2 separate regions of the Homo sapiens genome follow, and region 1 is linked to region 2. Evidence: promoter capture Hi-C in human tissues and cell types (Jung and others, 2019). All regions are on one chromosome and are shown on one strand. Each heading gives the region's core, a stretch centred on a gene start or on the middle of the fragment in contact. The rest is flanking DNA. Distances are from core to core; before and after follow the strand shown.

Region 1 (6,246 bases), core at 3,387-5,886, 180 kb after region 2:
ATACAAAACAAAATTAACAGACATCATGGGCCTTTCTGTTCCACAACAACTAGACCTTATATATGAAACACACTTCGTGGTTTTGTTTAATCTGCAAACACCTTCCCTTCCCCAGTCCTCACATTGTTGAATAAAAATGAAGCAAACAGGGTGCAGCACACCAACATGGCACATGTGTACATATGTAACAAACCTGCATGTTGTGCACTTGTACCCTAGAACTTAAAGTATAATAAAATATATATATATTTTTTAAAAAATGAAGCAAACAAACGAGAGCTTTGCCCATTGCAGTGGGGTTGGGAGAGTGGTCAGGAACCTGGTCTTTCTTTGCCAAGACACCAAGAAATCACTGGTGCCTCGGGGGCTCAGGGAGCCAAAGAGCTAAGGCCTAAAACACAGCGTCCAGCCCTAGAGCTGCAGGGTTCCCAGGGGAACCTGCGCCAGCTGGGAGGGACAGGATTATAATCAAGCAAGCTCTCACAAGTCAAAATAACCAAACCCAGAAGAGGGAAAGCTACAGAGAGAAGGCTGGAGGGAAGCCAAGGGGAAGCCAGCAGAAAGACACGGAAAACCCCAGCGCGGGGATTGAGGGAAGCCAGGCTGCATCTGGATGTTTCTTCCACCTTTTCCCTTCGGCTAACCTACTGCTTGCTTTGTGCTGAGAACTGTAGAATTTCCCACACTTGACACATCTGTCCAAACCTCTGCACTAAGAGACCTGACCAGACTCTGGCATGGCTCCTAGCAGAACAAATCTGTGTCCCTAGGATGGCCCGGTTCCCCTTAAAGTGCTTGCCTGAGAAAACTCAGTGCTGCCAGGAAAATGTACCTGTTTCTTCTACTCAACACACAACTGATGATAGGCCCCTGACCTCCCTTTCCAAGAGAATTTACTAAAAAGGACTTAAAACTGTGAATATGTATCTCTTGAAACTCACAAGCATCTCTCTCAAGGACTGAGAGCCATTCCTTTGCAACACAATCATCAGGATGGATAGAGTGTCTGTCTCGCAGTCTCTGCGGGAGAATAGAGTCCTAATCGAGAGAACTGCCAGCTATCAGACACAGCTGGCCTCCTCACATTTACACTGACCAGCCCTTTCTACCTTTTTACTTCTCTGACTCTACAGAGCCCTGCGTTCTCCCCTCCCTCATTCTCCCTTTAAAATGCTCACATCACCACTGCACAAATCAGAATGGAGCCTAGCTCTTTCCCCCACTGTCAGCAGTTACTGAATGAAACCTATTGTCACTGCCTAAACTAATATCTGGCTGTGCTTATCTTTGACAGCTCCCATCACCCTGGCCTCCCACTAGCAACTTAAATAAGCCCACTCTGCTCTGCCTCAGGCCCTTTGCATATGCTCTTGTTTGCTGCCTGGTGTATTTTACACTGGAGCCCACCCAGGCTCAGTCCTTCATTACATCTCTCTCAGAGAGATGGTCTCTGACCACCCAGGACAAAGCAGGTTTTTCTGTGAGTCCCTGTCAGAACACTCTCCTTTTTCCCTCCATTGTACATCCCCACATTTTGGAATTAGTAGTTTACTTATTCGTGTGTTTTTCTGCTCTCCTGACTAGCCCATGAGCTCCCTGAGGGTAAGGACCAATGTGTTTAATTCACCACTGCAGCCCCATTGCCCAGCACAGGATCTGACATGTACAGATGGGCAGGGGCAACGTTGAAAGAATGAAGAGCATTTTTGTAGACCTAAGAACAAAAAGATCAGCTGTCACCTGCAATCAGGACACTTTACTCTTCCCCCTGCATGCATCACTCATCTTCCCAGTTGTGTATCAAAAGCTGCCAAAGAAGGTTATATAATAATTTTGATAGTGGGCATTCTTATTTATTTATTTATTTTGAGATGGAGCCTCACTCTGTCACCTAGGCTGGAGTGCAGTGGCAGGATCTTGGCTCACTGCAACCTCTGCCTCCCCGGTTCAAGTGATTCTCCTGCCTCAGCCTCCCAAGTAGCTGGGATTACAGGCATGCACCACCATGCCCAGCTAATTTTTATATTTTTTAGTAGAGATGGGGTTTCGCCATGTTGGCCAGGCTGGTCTCGAACTCCTGACCTCAGGTGATCCACCTGCCTCAGCCTCCCAAAGTGCTAGGATTTCAGGCATGAGCCACCGCGCCCAGCCTGATAGCAGGCATTCTTATATTTTCGCCAAGTTCAGAGAACCTAGGGTCTCAAAACAGTCACCCTTGCGTCTACTGTGTCTGGAAAGCAAAAGTTAATGTGCTTTTTGACTTTTGCTTTCCAGACACATTAAAGAAAACCTCCCCATTTCCACTTTTGAAGTGATTTTAGTAAGTCAAGGTTGACTGCCCCATATATCAGCCTCCTACCTGTGAGTAAAGAATTGTTCCAAAGTGACTGGAAACAGAGAAAGTATGGCTTTCTTCCACTCTCTTTTAGGCAGCAGCGACTTACCGCAATGGCCCTGATGCAATCAAGGTAGGAGGCTTTCTTCACACAAGCAACACTGGGACCATCGGATGGAATGACGCTTTTCATATGGTCGCGGAAACTCTGGCACTTAGTGGCCTCATGCTCCGACACTGCACACCATCTCACAGTTTTATCAGGGACAGCCAGACACAGCCCTGGGGGAGAGAGGCCAGAGGTGGAAGGGCCCACTCCCTATGCTGAGGGAGAGACAGCATCGCCCCTAGAAAGGCCTTGACAGCCACATCCCCTCAGTCCTGTCCTCCTCTCACTCCTGTCCATGAACACTACAGGGCACAAGTTCTACTGCATTCTGAGTCTGAGCCAATAGAAGGTTGCCCTAATGGCCTCCCAGTTTCCTACTGACCACCCTCTGCTGGCCAGAGGGGTGCAGGCATGGCCATCACCTCCCAGCTGGAGATGACAATCTGCTCCTCTGTATCCGCCTTGTCTCCTCCCATCACTGTCCTGGCCCCTGGCCCCCCATGGAACATAAGCCTCAGTATGCACAGGGCGTTTTCAGCTACCCCAACACATTGGCTTGCTACCTCAACTATGGAAAACCAGCGGGGGAGGAATTGCCATCTTTTTGAGAAGAGGGAGTGAGACTCAGAGAATGATGCCTTTTTTTTTTTTTAACCCAAGGTCACCCTGCTTGTCGTTGGCCAAGCCAGGCCTAGAATCTGGGTCTCCAGACTCTGGGTCTGCTACTCAGGGCACAAAAGAAGAAAACATTCTGAGTTACACCCCTTCTTGGCCAGTAGTTGAGGGTAAATTAACGAAAAGAATTAATTTGTCTGTAACTCTTGTCTGTTGCTCTCTGTTTAGGAAGAACTAAAAACTCCACAAATTCAACAGTCTCCCCTCTGTCTCCACTGAACTATCCCTCCATTTTCACCACACTTTTTGGCTGCCATTCACAAAAAAAGCTGAAGCCAGCCATGGGTAACTATTAAAATCCATGTGGTTGCAGAGACAGCATCCCTATCACATGAGCTTTTGCCCTGTCCCCAAGGCCCTCTGTCATCTCCACTCCTTGTGGGCCACCACAGCAAGGCTGACTCACTGGCTCTGAAGAAGATCCACAAAGCCTGTGGAGAGGAGGCCCACAGCTCTCCAGGATGCATGAGGAGGGGCCACCAGGGATGGCCACCCCAGCGACCCCCATTTTCCCTCTTGGCCCATGGGAAATCCTAGGAGGCAACATAAGCCTGTGGCAGCCCCTCCACAAAGCCCTGCCTCCAGAGTTCCCATAGGCGAGAATGTGTCCTCAGTGGAGCATTACCTTGCACAGCCTGTGAAGTGCTCTGTGCGGGGATAAAGGCAAGTAACGTGGGGTCCTCTCTCAAGGAATTGCTAGCTTATGGGGAGAGAAAACTAAACGTGGAAGCCCCAACAGTGTGACAAATGCCCCATGAATGGCAGGCAGAAGTTAGAGTATGAAGGGGGCCCCACCTCAGGAGGTCGGGGAGTGTGGCGTCAGCCACTGCCCCATAGCAGGATGTGTGCAACATCTGCCACTGGTACTCAGCATCTGCCACCTCGCTGACCCTCATTTGACCCTCCCAGGCAAGTGCTGTGATGACCCCCTCCCTGGTGAGGAGCCGGCCAGGACTTGGATCCAAGAAGTCTGGCTTCAAACCCCATGCTCTGACCGCTCGATGGCACCGCTTCCTTGGCAGGACATCTACAGCTCCCAGGGCACCCAGGGGACATCAGCCTCTGAAAGGGGAATGGTCAGACCCGGGAGGCCTTGAATGCCATGCTAAGGAGTTCGGACTTGACAAGAGGCAGCAGCAAAGGGTTTTGATAACCTGGTTAGACGTGCTCTGATTTATTGTATTTCACTGCTGCAAGATTTACTGGACAAAGAGGAGGAGGGGGAGAAGACAGTGAGTGCAGTGAAAGGTGTCTAGAAGCCCAAGCAAAGGCCAGGGGTGGGGCGTAGAGAGGCAATGGAAAGGCACCCAGACACCCAGGCTTCCAGCCTGAGCGCGGAGTGCATGCAGGCTGCGCGGTGGCCGCCCGGGTTGCAGGGAACGCGCGGGCCAGCGACTCTGCGGTGCTACCCCGTGCCCGCACTCACCCAGGACGGCGCAGACCAGCAGGGCTCCCACGGCGAGCCTCATCTTCCGGGTGCGGCGCTGAGCAGCGAGCACAGTCGGACTCGCTTCTGTGCAGCCTCCGGCGCCCCGCGTCCCTTTATTCCATTCCCGGCCTGGGCGGGCTGGGCGCAATCTTTGACCTCCCGTGTTTGTGCAGCCGGGTTGCCCAATCGCCCCTCTCCCAACCCCCCTTCCTTACTCGTCCCACTGATCACCTCATTTTCTGAGCTCTGGAGACGACCCGCGAGTGGAAGGAGTCCAGCACAGAAATGTTGATGGGAAGGGACATGAAGCACAATGCAGCCATTGTCATCGCGGCTCGCTCGGTGCCAGGAGCGGCTACGGCGGGCTGGGAGCCGGGGGGCTCTGCTCCTGACTCCAGGGCTGCAGAGCTGGTCCGTGCCACCAGTCCTATCTGCGCAGTCCACAGAGGAAGACTCCGAGGCTGGAGAGGGAAAAGAACTGCGCCCAGACCCCACACTAGAACTGCAGAATGACAGGCAAAGCCCCTTTTGGGGGAGGATGCAGGAGAAACAAGCTGGGCTCAAGGTCAAAGACAGACTCAGCACCTTTTGCTCCCCACCAGGTGTCCCTCGAAATCCTGCTCCTGGGCTCTCAAAGGTCCCCCACGGAGGAGCTGCTCCCTCTTCCTGCCCCGCTGAGCTCAGGCTCCTGGGCTGGAAAACTTCCCGCCCTCAAGCTTCCTGTGGGACACCTTAGACTAGGGACAGAGTCATAGGGGAAGATGAACTCCCTCCAACAAGAAGGTTCCAGGAACATGGTCAAGACACTGTGAGGCTCAGAACAAAGTGTCATCTTAGCACAAAGCAAGCGGCCCAGTGGACGGTGTGGCCTGTTCTTACAGCCTGGGGCCACCATGTCCCCCTCTAGTCGATGAGTCTCCTAACCAGTTTAATTACACATCCTTATCATGAAAAATATTGAACTTGTGCCTTCTATATGCTTATATTTTAACTAAAAAATGTGTACACTTCAATCATGCACAAGGAATAGAAATTTGTAAAAGGATGAGCTAAAGATGAAACTCATTTTCAAATGTCGTTTTGCTTATGCGGCCTTATACAGGATTATTATCTCAAGGCATAATATACTTGGGGAAAGGTCAAGATTCCTTCCACGAAGTGTAAATCCAGACTTCAGAGATTTTGCCAAAAGTTACTTCTTATCCAACCTGACCAGATGGTCATTCATTCTGTCTCATGTTTTAGTTGACCAAGCTCATATCAAGCCTAGTGGACACGTCAGGTCAGTCATTTGATTTTTGTTCACTTGTTTTTGTGTTGTCAGAATTGTCTCCTAATTCTAGTTTCTTTGTAAGAATCTTTTTAAGGCATGTGTGCATCTCGTGAAGGTTGGAGTTAAAGCCAGATTATCTAATCTGTACATCCGTTTAACTGGGCACATACAAACCACAAAGTATGGAAATAAAAATGCCAAAACAAAGGGCAGGGTCGGCACTCCCCTTTTCACCTTTAGCATTGTGAGGTGAACCCCATCTTCCCTTAGGACACCTGAAAGGCTCCATCTGTCATGACTGCAGACTCAGGTGGGAGATAGGGCCAATTCACACATTCAATATGAATGAATGATAATTTGTTAATCTTTTGCAATAACAATAAATATAACTGGAAGTTAGATTATGTTCTCCCACACTCCAAAAG
Region 2 (6,800 bases), core at 1,632-4,131:
GGTCATGAATTTATGTTGTCATATACATCTGTCAGAGAACAGACAGCACCTGCACTTTTTAATTTTATTTTATTTTTATTTGTATTTTATTTTTGAGATGGAGTCTTGCTCTGTCACCCAGGCTGGAGTGCAGTGGCACAATCTTGGCTCACTGCAACCTCTGCCTCCTTGGTTCAAGCGATTCTCCTGCCTCAGCCTCCAGAGTAACTGGGATTACAGGCCTGCGCCACCACACCTGGCTAATTTTTGTACTTTTAGTAGAGACAGGGTTTCACCATGTTGGCCAGGCTGGTCTCAAACTCCTGACCTCAAGTGATCCTCCCGCCTCAGCCTCCCAAAGTGTTGGGATTACAGGCATGAGCCACTGCGCCCTGCCGGCACCTGCATCTTGTAAACAGAGGAAGTGCTCATGACATAGACCCCAGGGGCCCATGGCCATGGAGATTAGAGGTAATGCAACTGTCAACCCATTAGCCTGGTATCAGGCAAGTACCAGACACTGCTTATTCCTTCAGTGAAGTTCTGCTGGGCTCTGAGAAGGCCGCATCACTGCTCTTGGGTTTATATCCAGAAGCGGAGCTGGACGCAAACAGCTATGTCCATGGCACAAAACAGAATTAATATCATAATCAAATTGATCACATGGTCACAACCAGTACTACTACTCCCAAGAAAATCTTTCTTTTCAGCTGTCAGCAGGGAATATAATAGTGTCACTTTCATTTCACTTCTAGAGCAAAGCTTAACAAACTTTCTTGAGTGTGTGACACTCACAGAGGATGCAAATTCCCAACACCCTCCACCCAGCCCCAGCGTCTACTTCTGTGGGTCTAATGGGGACCCAGGAATGGCTCTTTTAACGGCCCCCTCATGAGATTGATGTGGGTAGTTCCCAAATCCTGTGAGGTGGGCTGTCAGTGCAATAGAGCCTGGGGTATGCCCATTTGTGCTTAGGCCACTGAGAAATTTACAGGCTCGATAGGCCTTTGGTATGTTCAAAGGTGAGTGAAGGATAACAAGGTGAAGAGATGCCTGTGAATCTGATTTTTTGGATGGCTGCAACTAAGAGTCAATGGGCATGAAAAACAATCCAAGAGCTCACATTTATATGAGGCCCTTATCAGTACTGAGAGAGACATTCTCACTTCACAAGCTTGGATGTGCAAAAAGAAAAAAATCACTTATTTCTTTAAATCAGTTATTGATTTCAAACCCCCCATCCTACTGTCTGGCTGGAAATTCAATATCAACCATGCTTGGGTCTGGCTCCTAGAGCCATCTGAAGGTCCTTGGATGCCTACGCATTCAAGGGTGCCATTGTGGGTCTTTGGTCCCTTTCCCATTTGAGGCTGTTTAATGGCCCTGCTTCTCACCTGAGCCTGGAAACCCTACAAAGCCGAGACCCCAGGGTTAGGCCCACCTCCCTGTGCACACTCGCGGCTATGCCCTCTCCCGGCCCCAGTCCTAGGAAGCCCACTCCTCTGCACCACTCCCTCTCCCTACAGAATCCCGCTCCTCAAGGGCTGAACAAAAAAGCCGGAAAAGGAAGAGTGTGCAGGAACCTTTTTTATTCAATCCTTCTTTTACCCTTCTTGGAAAAAGCGCAAATACAGTGATAACTAAATACCGTATCTCTATCAATTATCCTTTGGCCCAAAGCCCTTTGGGGTGATCCTCCATGATGGATGCCCCATGTAAAGGTGAGGAATCTGATCCCGAGGAAGCAACCATTGTGGCCAATTTCACATAGATAATAGCTGGCCAGGTCTAGACTCAAACCAGGCTGTCCACTTCTCTCTGGTCCAGCCCAATTGCCCCAGCTGAGTCATTCTGAAGAGTCAGCATGGACTAAAATGGTGGGGAGGCCCCTCTTTTCCCACTGATGTTCACTGGCCCATGGGAGGGAAGTGGGGGAATCTCTTGAGGGCCATTAAGGTGGGTAACAAAGGCAAAAGAACCAGGTAACAGTTCATTTACTTACCTTCTATTCAACTAGCAACAACATCACAACTATTCATTAAACAGGGCCAATTTATCCCTATAGCACCATGAGTTAAAGAGAGTTGTGGAGAAAAGAGACAAAGAGGGAAGGGTTTTGAGAAGAAAAGGCCCTGAGAATCCTGCACACAGACCTTCAAGGGAACAGCTCCATCTGGTGACTGCTTAGCAGATTCTTGCTCAAGAAACAAAGCCATATTGTGATTTTATTCAACCACTCTCAAAGATGGAGAGATACAGTTAAGCTGGAGGCTGAAGCCAGTCAGTATCAAATTGATACTAAAATATTATATTGCAGCAAATCCAGAAGAAATACATCCTATCTTTCGCAACCACAGGAAGTAAATACCTGGAAGAAAGGTCCATCTCCTGCCAGTAGCACCAGACACCAGATTCATTATAACCTTTCATCAGAGATTAAATATGGAAACAGATCCTGGAAAAGCCCTTGGCAAATCATAAATGAGAGGAAGTTTTTCTCCATGGCATACCCTGGCCATTCCTCCACTCTCCAGCCACATCATGTCTCCAGCCCTGCTACAACTTGACAGCAATAATAATAACTAAAATGTGCACAGATCTTTACAGTTTACCAAGCCATTAACCCATTTAAAACACTTCTTTAATCAGTAAATCAGTGGGGAAAGGCTTGGCTATGCTGTGGTAACAAACCTCTCGAATCTTAGTCACTTGACACAACAAAAGATGGTATCTCGCTCACAGAACCTGTGGTGATCTGGGTGACTCTCAGGTCAGTGGCTCAGTAGTGCCCCTCTGCCTGCTCAGGGCCTGGAGGATTGGCCTGAGAGCCCCCCCAACCAGTGTCTCAGTAACTCAGACTGTTTGGAACCTGAGGTACCTCCATTTCATTATAAGCTGCCATGATGGATGGGGCAGGGGAAGAAAGTCCTGGAAGATCCCGCACTGCTAAGCAATGCTTTGTCCCAAAGTAACGCTCTTCACTCTGCTCCCAGCCTAGCTGCCGCAAGAGCGGAACAGAATATTCTGTGTGCTCAGGAGAAGAAAAGAGCAGATATGGTTGAGCACTAAAACCCTCTACTGTGGGTAGTGAACCTAGGTGGACACAGTTGCTCACCGGGACACTTAAACCAGCTTTGCGGGGCTGTCGGGGTTGGGAAGCACAGTCTGGAAAGATTTCCCAATGGAGGAAGCACCAATTGTGGGTCCCTGAAGCTGAGGGGATGATGCCCAGGCAAGGCCGAGGCAGTCTGCAGAGGGCTGGGGAGGTGGGAAAGACGATTTTGCTCAGAGGAGGCAGAGATGGGGTGGTGGCTGAGAGAGATGCAGGGTCAAGGAAAGGATGGCTTCAGAGAGGAGAGATTTGCTGGGGCAAAAGGCCACAGGATGGGGAGGCTGCGGGGTCCAAGAGGACAGCTGATGGAGCGAGACCCTGCAGGCAAGGAGGAGATGGGGTGACTCATGGCAGAATCGCACCAGAGTTCCCACAGCCCTGTGCGGCCACTATGACTAGTCCCATCCTGTACATGGAGAAAACGAGGCTCCTTCCAGTTGTCCCTCACGCCTCCCTTGATTTATGTACTACCTGATGTGTATAAGGACAGGTGGTGACAAACACATGGTCCCTACCCTTCAAGGACATATAATCCAGAGCTAAGACAAGACCTTAACACAGGGCAAAGTACTATGCTCTGAGTTCATTTGATGAGCGATGGGAGAACGGGCTTGATCCTAGCCATGCGGGAGAGACTGGAATTCAAGAGAGTCAAATGTGCTGGGAAAGACTTTCTGGGCAAAAGGAATAAGCAAAGGTGTGCAAAGGTAAGGAAGCAGGAAACCTTTGCACATCTTGAGAACTCGCCGGCCAGAGGCCTGTGAAGGAGCGCAGTGGTCAGGCAGGAGAGGCAGTCGGATGCAGGCTGAGACCATCCTGGAGGGTCTTGAGGCTGGCTTACCCCAGGCTGTGAGTAGTGGGCTCAGCCTAGTCCCGGCTCCTGGGTTAGTGCTCACGTGTCTCTCTGCCCCCTCAGGGCCTGGAGGAATGGCCTTAGAGCCCCCACCAACCACGCTCAGGAAGGCATTCCTAGCTCAGAGTACCCTCCTGGAGTCTACACTGGAAGGGGCTCCTGAGTGGGCCGCGCCACACCCCGAGGAGCAGAGGCGCAGTCCTCCCGCGTGCTCCCAGCACACTCCACCCCTACCCAGCACACCCACGGGGCCCCCACCTTGCTCACCTGGGGGGAACCACCCACTCTGCGCCCTCTCAGGGAGAGGTGGTGGCCGCTGCTCTATCCCCTCCCTCTCTTCCTCTTCCACCTTCTCTCTCTTCTCATCTGGGTGCTGGAACCCAAGGGTGAAACTGAGAGTCAGAAAGTCTCAGTCTCAAGGCAGAGCGGGGCAACTAATTTAAAACGGCTTCTACTCCGGCCCCCAGTGTGACTAATCTCCTTCTCTTCGCTCCACAGGTCTATAAATGGGCCACAGTAGGCACCCCTTTTTAAATCTGTAAAATCCCCAAATCCATTAAAAGTGACTTCAGAGGTCCCAGATAGGGACCAACATTTGTTTAAACCTTTTCCTCATTACATCTCATGACCGCCAGCTTACAAAAGAGAGACTGGGGGTTCTGGATGAGACGTATGCAATCCCTGAGTCCACCTTGGAAAGGACAGAGGCAGGTGTCACACCGTTCCTCTTTGACCCGAATCGCTTGAATCCCAGAGTTTCAACAGCTCAGGTGGGTTGAAGGCTCAGAATGTACCAGACATCCGAAGCGCTTTACATACATTTGCTCCTTGAATCTTCACGACAGCCCTGTGAGATGCAATAATCATGCCATTCCACAGACGAGGAAACGGGCCCAGGGGACTGCGGTCTCGGCTCCTTTCCTCTGGCTTTCTCAGAAAAGGCGCGGAGGCCCCCGCCGGGTGGGCGAGGCGGGGTGGGCGGCCCCTTGCGCCCTGGAGTCGCATTCCGCCACCAGGGGGCGCCGCCCCTCCGCCGCGGCCCGGGGAAGCCACCCGCGGAGGCGCCACGCCCAGCCCGCCCACGGGACGCCCCCGCGGCCCCACAGCCAGCCGGGCGGGACTCCACCACCCGGCTCAGCGCGCCTCCGATAGCCCGCTTCCCCGCCGGGGCGCCCTCGGGCCTGCGGGGCTCCCCGCGCCCACCGCACGCACGCACGCACGCCTTCCCCTACTCGGAGGGCCCGGCGGCTGAGCCCACCGGCGCCTGCTCACGGGACACAGCCTCGAGAAAACTTCCTCTCTGACTGCCCGCGATAAAGCACCGTTTAGTCTATTTATGTTTTCTGCACGAAAGTGTATTAAACACGTTAGAGAACAAGAGGAGTAGAGAGTAAGGTGCCACGAGGCACCGAGAGGGCCCGCGGGAACACACGGCTTCCTCAGGCTCTCTGACCGGCCGTGAGCAGGGTGGTCCCCGGCCGCATTGTGGGGCCATTCGCACCCAGAAGCTGTCAGCCTCCCCACTGCGTCACTGGCACCATCTGGGAACCATTATTCAGCCACTGCAGGGGGCTAGGTAGCCTCTGCTTCCTCCTTCCAATTCCCAAAACCTTCACCACAGCACCTCCTGGGGCCTGGCCCCGAGATAGGCTTGCATGTCGGAAAGAAACTGTTGTCAGCATTCCAGGCACTGTCCACCCCGGGAAAGGGGCAGGTACCCATCCCGTCACAGACTCAGGTACCCGGGCAAGCCGGGCACCAGGCCTATAGAGGTGAACAAGACAAACAGAAGGCAGACAGACAACCAAGAAAGCATCCAAACTGTGGCTGCAATTGGCTGATCAATTACAGGTGCAATAGTGCCATGAAGGAGAAGTGCAAACAGACAGACAGATGCCTGCATGGAAATGCAGGGGGAAGCCGGTGTATGTGGTGGATTAACAAAGGTGAAAGAGGCCCGTTCCCTAGGGATTGGAGATCTGGAGCAGAGATGAGCTCTAACTGTGCCTGGAAGGATAGGGTAAGTTTGTTGACAGGGGCCTTAGAGAAGGTGTTCTGGGCGGAGGGGACTGCAGGAGTGAAGACTCAGAGATGAGAAAACTGGACCATGTTTGCCTGGAGGGCAGGGTGTAAGTAGCGCCCCCAGTTGCAAGGTGCCTCAGGCAGAGCGTGGTGAGTGGTGGATTCTAGAGGGAGAGAGTGTATCATGTACATCTCCTTTAGTAACTAACAGGGTGCTGCTGGTGGATGATGGGGCGTCGCTGACAGAATTTTAACAGAGGCAAGATGCAACCAGATTTCAGGGTGTAAAAGGCCACTGGGGCTACATGTGTACTTGGAAGAGGGAACCTGGCTGGCAAAGGTCCTTAGGAGGGAGGCCTACTTGTCATTATGGCCACTGGGATACTAGAGTAGGAGACGTCAGAGCCGAGGGCAGGACCAGCAAGCAGCAGGAGCATCCCAGGCACCCACAGGCTCCTGGCAGCCAGGATGAGCCAGCGCAGAATGCAGGGTTAGCAAAAGGCCATGCGGGAGCCCATCCCAGCACCAGAACTTGCCTTGTTATAAAACAGGCATTGGAAACTGGCTGAGCCTGGGCCCAGCACAAGAGTTCTAGTTGGCCTACAAGATATTTGCATGTCTTTAAGTTAGCTCCAAACACTGGGAGAGTTTGACTGGGGTTTTCTCTTGAAAAACCCTGGTGCAGCATTCCAGCCCAAAAACAATGGATTGGAGCTGAGTAGAGGGCAGTCCTTCAGATGGACCCTGTCCTCTCAGGGTGGCTGCGGTTCCCACATCATCTGCCTGGCCCTTGTAGGTATTTAAAACTTTCACACACACACACACACACACACA

The links. The method cuts DNA at HindIII sites, captures the fragments that hold promoters and counts their contacts. A contact is called where the count stands out against the background at its distance.
Region 1: a contact is called between the fragment with the promoter of TF here and the fragment with the promoter of C3orf36 in region 2, in 1 of the 25 tissues and cell types used here (psoas muscle).

Annotation. Positions count from the first base shown.
Region 1 is chr3:133,744,783-133,751,028 of GRCh38, reverse strand. It overlaps TF (transferrin), which reads right to left and starts at 4,636. Exons shown (of 17, transcript NM_001063.4): 1 at 4,546-4,636; 2 at 2,445-2,617. The coding sequence starts at 4,588. The HindIII fragment of the contact is 10,529 bases long and covers 1-5,783 here.
Region 2 is chr3:133,925,893-133,932,692 of GRCh38, reverse strand. C3orf36 (chromosome 3 putative open reading frame 36) reads left to right here and starts at 2,881. Exons shown (of 1, transcript NR_161373.1): 1 at 2,881-4,548. RefSeq lists a silencer at 4,723-5,252. The HindIII fragment of the contact is 10,560 bases long and covers 948-6,800 here.